Regions from separate parts of the Homo sapiens genome. Here region 1 is linked to region 2. Evidence: promoter capture Hi-C in 16 types of primary human blood cells and fetal thymus (Javierre and others, 2016). All regions are on one chromosome and are shown on one strand. The core of a region is centred on a gene start or on the middle of the fragment in contact, and the rest is flanking DNA. Distances in the headings are between cores, read along the strand shown. Region 1 has its middle 8.4 kb from the start of ALG13. Region 2 holds the start of LHFPL1 (LHFPL tetraspan subfamily member 1).

Evidence for each region. The method cuts DNA at HindIII sites, captures the fragments that hold promoters and counts their contacts. A CHiCAGO score of 5 or more calls a contact.
Region 1: a contact is called between a fragment that was not itself captured here and the fragment with the promoter of LHFPL1 in region 2, in 1 of 17 cell types (non-activated CD4 T cells). The highest score is 7.1, in non-activated CD4 T cells.

What each region holds. Positions count from the first base shown.
Region 1 is chrX:111,671,406-111,674,105 of GRCh38, forward strand. No RefSeq gene overlaps it. Among named protein-coding and RNA genes, the nearest start is that of ALG13, 8.4 kb to the right of the region's middle. The HindIII fragment of the contact is 438 bases long and covers 1,083-1,520 here.
Region 2 is chrX:112,678,581-112,681,280 of GRCh38, forward strand. It overlaps LHFPL1 (LHFPL tetraspan subfamily member 1), which reads right to left and starts at 1,358. Exons shown (of 4, transcript NM_178175.4): 1 at 1,249-1,358. The HindIII fragment of the contact is 5,630 bases long and covers 1-2,700 here.

The DNA of each region.
Region 1 (2,700 bases), core at 52-2,551, 1.0 Mb before region 2:
GTTTCACTCTTGTTGCCCAGGCTGGAGTGCAGTGGTGCAATCTTGGCTCACCGCAACCTCTACCTCCCGGGTTCAAGCGATTCTCCTGCCTCACCCTCCCGAGTAGCTGGGATTACAGGCATGCACCACCATGCCCAGCTAATTTTGTGTTTTTAGTAGAAACGGGGTTTGTCCATGTTGGTCAGGCTGGTCTCGAACTCCCGACCTCATGTGACCCACCTGCCTTGGCCTCTCAAAGTGCTGGGATTGCAGGAGTGAGCCACTGCGCCTGGCCGAAGAGTTTTATTTTCTAAAAAAACAATCACAGCCTCTGTTGTAAACTGAAAGCATGCTATTGGGAAAGTTCCCACCCCAGCCCTCGATCAGGTCCATATGTGCAAATGAAGAATTCAAACTCTTTCAGCCCGAATTCGTTGAAAACTTCTGAGTCCCAGATGGGTAGTTTTCAAGCCAGAACCAGAAGTCTCTGTTGGATGCTCCTTTCAGGCTGCTGGTGGGAGTTTTCCTGCCACTGTGTCTCAGCTCCAATTACTGGTTACAGGAACTGCCTTAGCTCAGAGGCGCAAACAGGATGTTCGTCTGGAACTGCCCTGTCTAGGAACTATTTTAAATTTTAACATGTCAAAAAAAATGTCTAAAATACAGAGAATTCCCAAAGCTATGACAATCAAGGCAGAAATAAAGTAAATGTAAGGGCTGAGCATATTACTCATACAGTCCTGGTCTGGTGTCCTGGGTTAGCTGTCAACCTTAGATGTTGTCTTCTTGGCCTGGAGATGGGGTTTTAGTAATCTGAATTTGGTATTAAACACTGGCATTTATGTCCAAGATTCTCCAGGAGTTGGTGCCATTTTTAGGTGAGATATATGTATCCAAGAGTCAATACACTGTAACTTGGCAGCACAGAGATTGATTAACAGTACCTGAAAAGAGTGCTTCTTCCAACAAGGCTGAAGGTAATCTTTCAATTGATGTCTCTACCAACGTACATAATCACTAGGCTGGAGGCTGCGATGCCAGAGGTCACTATCTGATTTGGGCCTGTAAAAGGATTCCACAACCTTGTGGCGGTTAGTCTTTAAAGCTTTGACAAGGCATTGGTAGTAGGTTAGGAAGTCTCCCTGTAACCGAGCAGGGAAAACGTTTCTTCAACCAGGTGCATGAGCAGACCGGCAACGATCTCAAAAGGGGAGAGACAGTGTTTCCTACTAGGTGTGGATTGTAAAACTAGCAATGCCAATGGGAGGGCCTTATGCCAGGGCAGGTTAAAAGTACTTGGGATCTTCACAAATTGGGTTTTTATAACCCCATTTATCTATTTAACCAGCCCAAAAGACTGGAGTGGTATGCATAATGAAAATGCTGCAGAATGGGCTAAATGTTCCAAATTTTTGCTAATACTTGGCCAGTTAAATGAGTTCCTTGGTTACTATATAGCTCAGTTGGAATTCCCCAAGAGGAATGATCTTTTCAAGGAGTACTTTGGCTACTGACATGGCCGTAGTCTGTCTGCAGGAGAAAGCTTCAACGCAATGGAAATACATGTCAACCATTATAAGGACATTTTTGTATCCATGAGATGGGGGTAATTGGATGAAGTCAAGCTGCCATTCTGCAAAAAGGCCATTGGGAAGTGATACTTGGCCTGAAGGACATTTTAGGGGTTCACCTGGAGTATATTGGGGACAGAGGCTACAAAGTTTGTATACCTAAAAAGCAACTGTTGGGGAAATTTCTCCGAAGTATTGTCTGACCCATTTATTCACTGTATCCAGATTGTAGTGAATTAGGTTATGTATAAAGGTCTGTTTGTGTCTGTAGACTGCTAGGGAGGATTGGATGTCTATTTGTCCCTTCTCATAATCTTGTTTGGGAGTTAAATGTGCAACTTTGTTTCATCCATTTCCCCCTTTCAAGATATGAAACTGCTTTCTGAGATGTGAAAAGTCTAGAAAAATGGTAATCAAATGGGCAAGCATGGGGGCTGAGGATTGAATGAGCATGATCAAGGGAGTTACTTGTAGGGCTGTAGCTTCAGCAGCTGCATCAGCAAGATGATTGCCCTTACTGTCTTCAGAGTTTTCAGGGGAGTATCCTTGGATCTTGATAATAGCAAGAGATAATAGAGCCTGAATAGCTTTTAGAAGTGTCAAAACAAAAATCTTTATTTTTAATAGGTTGTCTGGAGGAGGTCAAAAAACCTCATTGTTTCCAGGGCATACGAAATTATGTGCAACACCAAAGACGAATCTACCATCTGTATAAAATGTTAGTTGTTTTGCCTCCAGCCAGCAAACAGGCTCATGTGAAGGCATGCAATTCTGCTTGTTAAGCTGACCAGACCGTGGGAAGGGGGTCCTATTCAATAGTCTCTGCTGGGGAAACTATGGCGTATCTTGCGAGGTAAGAGCCAGCAGGGCTCTTGAGAGAAGACCCATCAGTGTACTAGACAAAGTCCAGATTGGGCAGAGGCATTTCCTTTGGGTATATGCTGGGTAAAAGGAGGGTATCTGTAAAACTGACACAGTCACAGGATGTCTTCCACTGGAGATGATAAAAGGGTTTTAATAGATTGCAGTGGGCAATGGCTAAATTGGGAGAAAAAGAAAATAGTATCTCATAGGTCAATCGGCTGGCTGAAAGATGTTGGGTATGATGAAAAGTGAGGAGGCTTTCAATGGAATGAGGGGCATACATAGT
Region 2 (2,700 bases), core at 108-2,607:
GGCCCATATGGGAAGAAGATGGGCTGATTGCTTTTCCAATCACTTCAGAGAAGTTGAGAGGCAGCATGGTATATCAAGAATGTTTGTCTCAACAGAATCACTTTCAATGCTTGTTCAGAATCACTTTCAATGCTTGTTCAAAATGCAGACTATGTCACCCCCTCCTTGATTCACTGAATTCGAATTTATGGGAATTCATATTGTTAAAAATCCTCAATTTATTCTAATGGGAACTAATGATTGAGGAATACTGTTTTAGTGGAAAAGTCACAATTTTGGAATCAGATCAGAGACAGAGTCCTGAGGTCTGCCCCTTACAGGCTATATGCACATAAAAAGATCACTTAAAACCTCTGAGTTTTGGTTTCATTTATAAAATGGAAATGATTAAGCATAAAATTCAAGTGAAACATCTGCACTATACCTAACACCAGAGTAGGTATCAATTCTCTCCCTTTCTACCAGAAAAGACCCTATTCTCTCATAAGTAATGGAAAAGACTTGAAACCACCTAAGATTTAGAACATCTCTCCTTTCCCCTTTCTCTCCCCACAACCACTCCATGGGTGATTTTTCCTCACCCCTAGGCTTCATTCTATTTTCAGTTCCCCACCACAAAATGAAACCACTTGGCCAAGTGTTCTTTGCAAGAATGGATTTATAGTTTAAGTATTTCAGGTTCTTCTGGAAATTGTCATGCCTTGGCACATAGTAGGAACTCATAAATATTTACCAAATGGATGCATTCTTTTATTTCCAGCCTGAGAGGCCTCAATATTTGCATTTCAGTTTAACTTCATTACCCCATTTCCGTCGCATAACCCCTTAGATTTAGGCAAATCCAGGAGATCAACCTACCACATTAGCAAACCGGATCCATTTTTACTTGTATAGACAGGTCATAACAAAATCACTCTCTCCACTCCCAGAAACAGGCACTTCATCTCCTCAGGTTACCAACTCCCCTGGGGAAACCAACTAGCACTTAACCCTTAGGTCCTCAAATCTTGTCAATATGAAATAGGAATCCAGCCCTGATTCATCTTAGCCTCTGTGCAAACAACGGACTATGAAGAAATAAAAAAGCACCAGGCTGCCCTCGGGTAGAAAACGGCTTCTCTGAGCTTTGAGATGAAAGGACAGGAAACCTGAGAAAGGAAGGGGAGAAGGGGGGGCTGAGCAAGGGGAGAGCAAAGCAGTTTCTTATCCAGCTGTTTGAATTGCATTTGGCCCAAGTTGCATATTTACCTTCTGACCACGAAGGCTGACTGACTTGTTCCCTCTCTTCAGGCTCAGATCTCAGAAACAACTTCTCCTTACAGCTTGTTAGACAAGGATGGGAATACTAGCTGCCCTTTGCAGTGATGCCTGAAAACCTTGCTTTACCTTTGGGAGAAAGGGGCGGAGTCCAACCTAATGGGGATTAACTCCAAACACGCTGGAGGCTTCAAACCCAGCCTCAGACATACAGGCACTTGAAATAGAAAGTAGCTTAGTGGGCACAGAGTCCCCAAACCTCCAACCTCACAGCGGACAAAGCAGCTCTGTGTGTGTGTGTGTGTGTGTGCGCGCGCGCGCGCGCGCGCGCGTGTGTGTGTATGTGTGTCCGCGCGAGCGCGCGCGCATGCGCGCAGGCATGCCCGCGCTTGAACTGCGTTATCTTACTTCCTCACTTGCTGCCCAAAAGCCTGCTGAGGAACAGAGATTTTCTCTAATTTTCCTCCAATGCCCTAGATAATCTCTACCATGGTAGGTAGCAGACCCATGTGGCTAGAAGTGACTGAGAGAACACATGCCTAAATAGAATAAGACAGAACAACCTCTTCTCCCCAAACTGATTTCCATTGCCTGATGGGGAAGATGCTCCAGCAGAGCAATCTTTGGCTCCAAGATGTAATGAGCTTACATTTCAGAATTTGTGGAAATCATACATTGAAAGGAATAACTAATATATTTTTATAGTAATAATACAATCAAAAGTCAGTGTTTAATTTATCCCAGTGCACTAATAACTGCTACTCTGCTTGGGAAAAGAGCTGAGTGGTCTGGAGATGAATGGAGCTTTGCCTGATGTTCTACTCCAACCCGATGTCATATTTCCCACCTGTGAATGTCCCTGACACTTCATATTTGGGGAAACTTATTATCTTCTACCTAGTATCATTATTATTATTATTATTTTCGTACATGTCTCTTTTCCCCTCCTAGATGGCCTGTGAATGGGGAACTTTGCTGAACAAATCCAAATGATTTAGAAGGAAGAATGGTTACATTAACAGAGCACACTGGACTGATCCAAAGTATCCATGCTTCTCTGATGGCCCAGTTCCCTCACCAGAATGCTACAAAGGTGATTAGGCCTATTTTCTAGCATGTTGTGGCAATAATTCAAAATATGACCGTAAATTAACATATTAATTGTACCGTGATTATTTAATGAACTTACAAAGTTTCTCCTGCCTTCTGTGTATACCACCTGTGTCCTGCCTTTTATCAGTGATATGATCCTATATTCATGCATGTATTTGTCTATCTAGCAACTTTCCATCAGCAATTTTTACCGTTTTGTTCTACAACACAGTGATAAATCCATTCCCATCTGTAATCATGGCTTACTGAGGCCATCATGTTTCTGGGGGAAGCACAGATGACTCCTTAGGTGGAATGTTAGACTTTTGGCAGTGTAAGCCCCCCAACTAA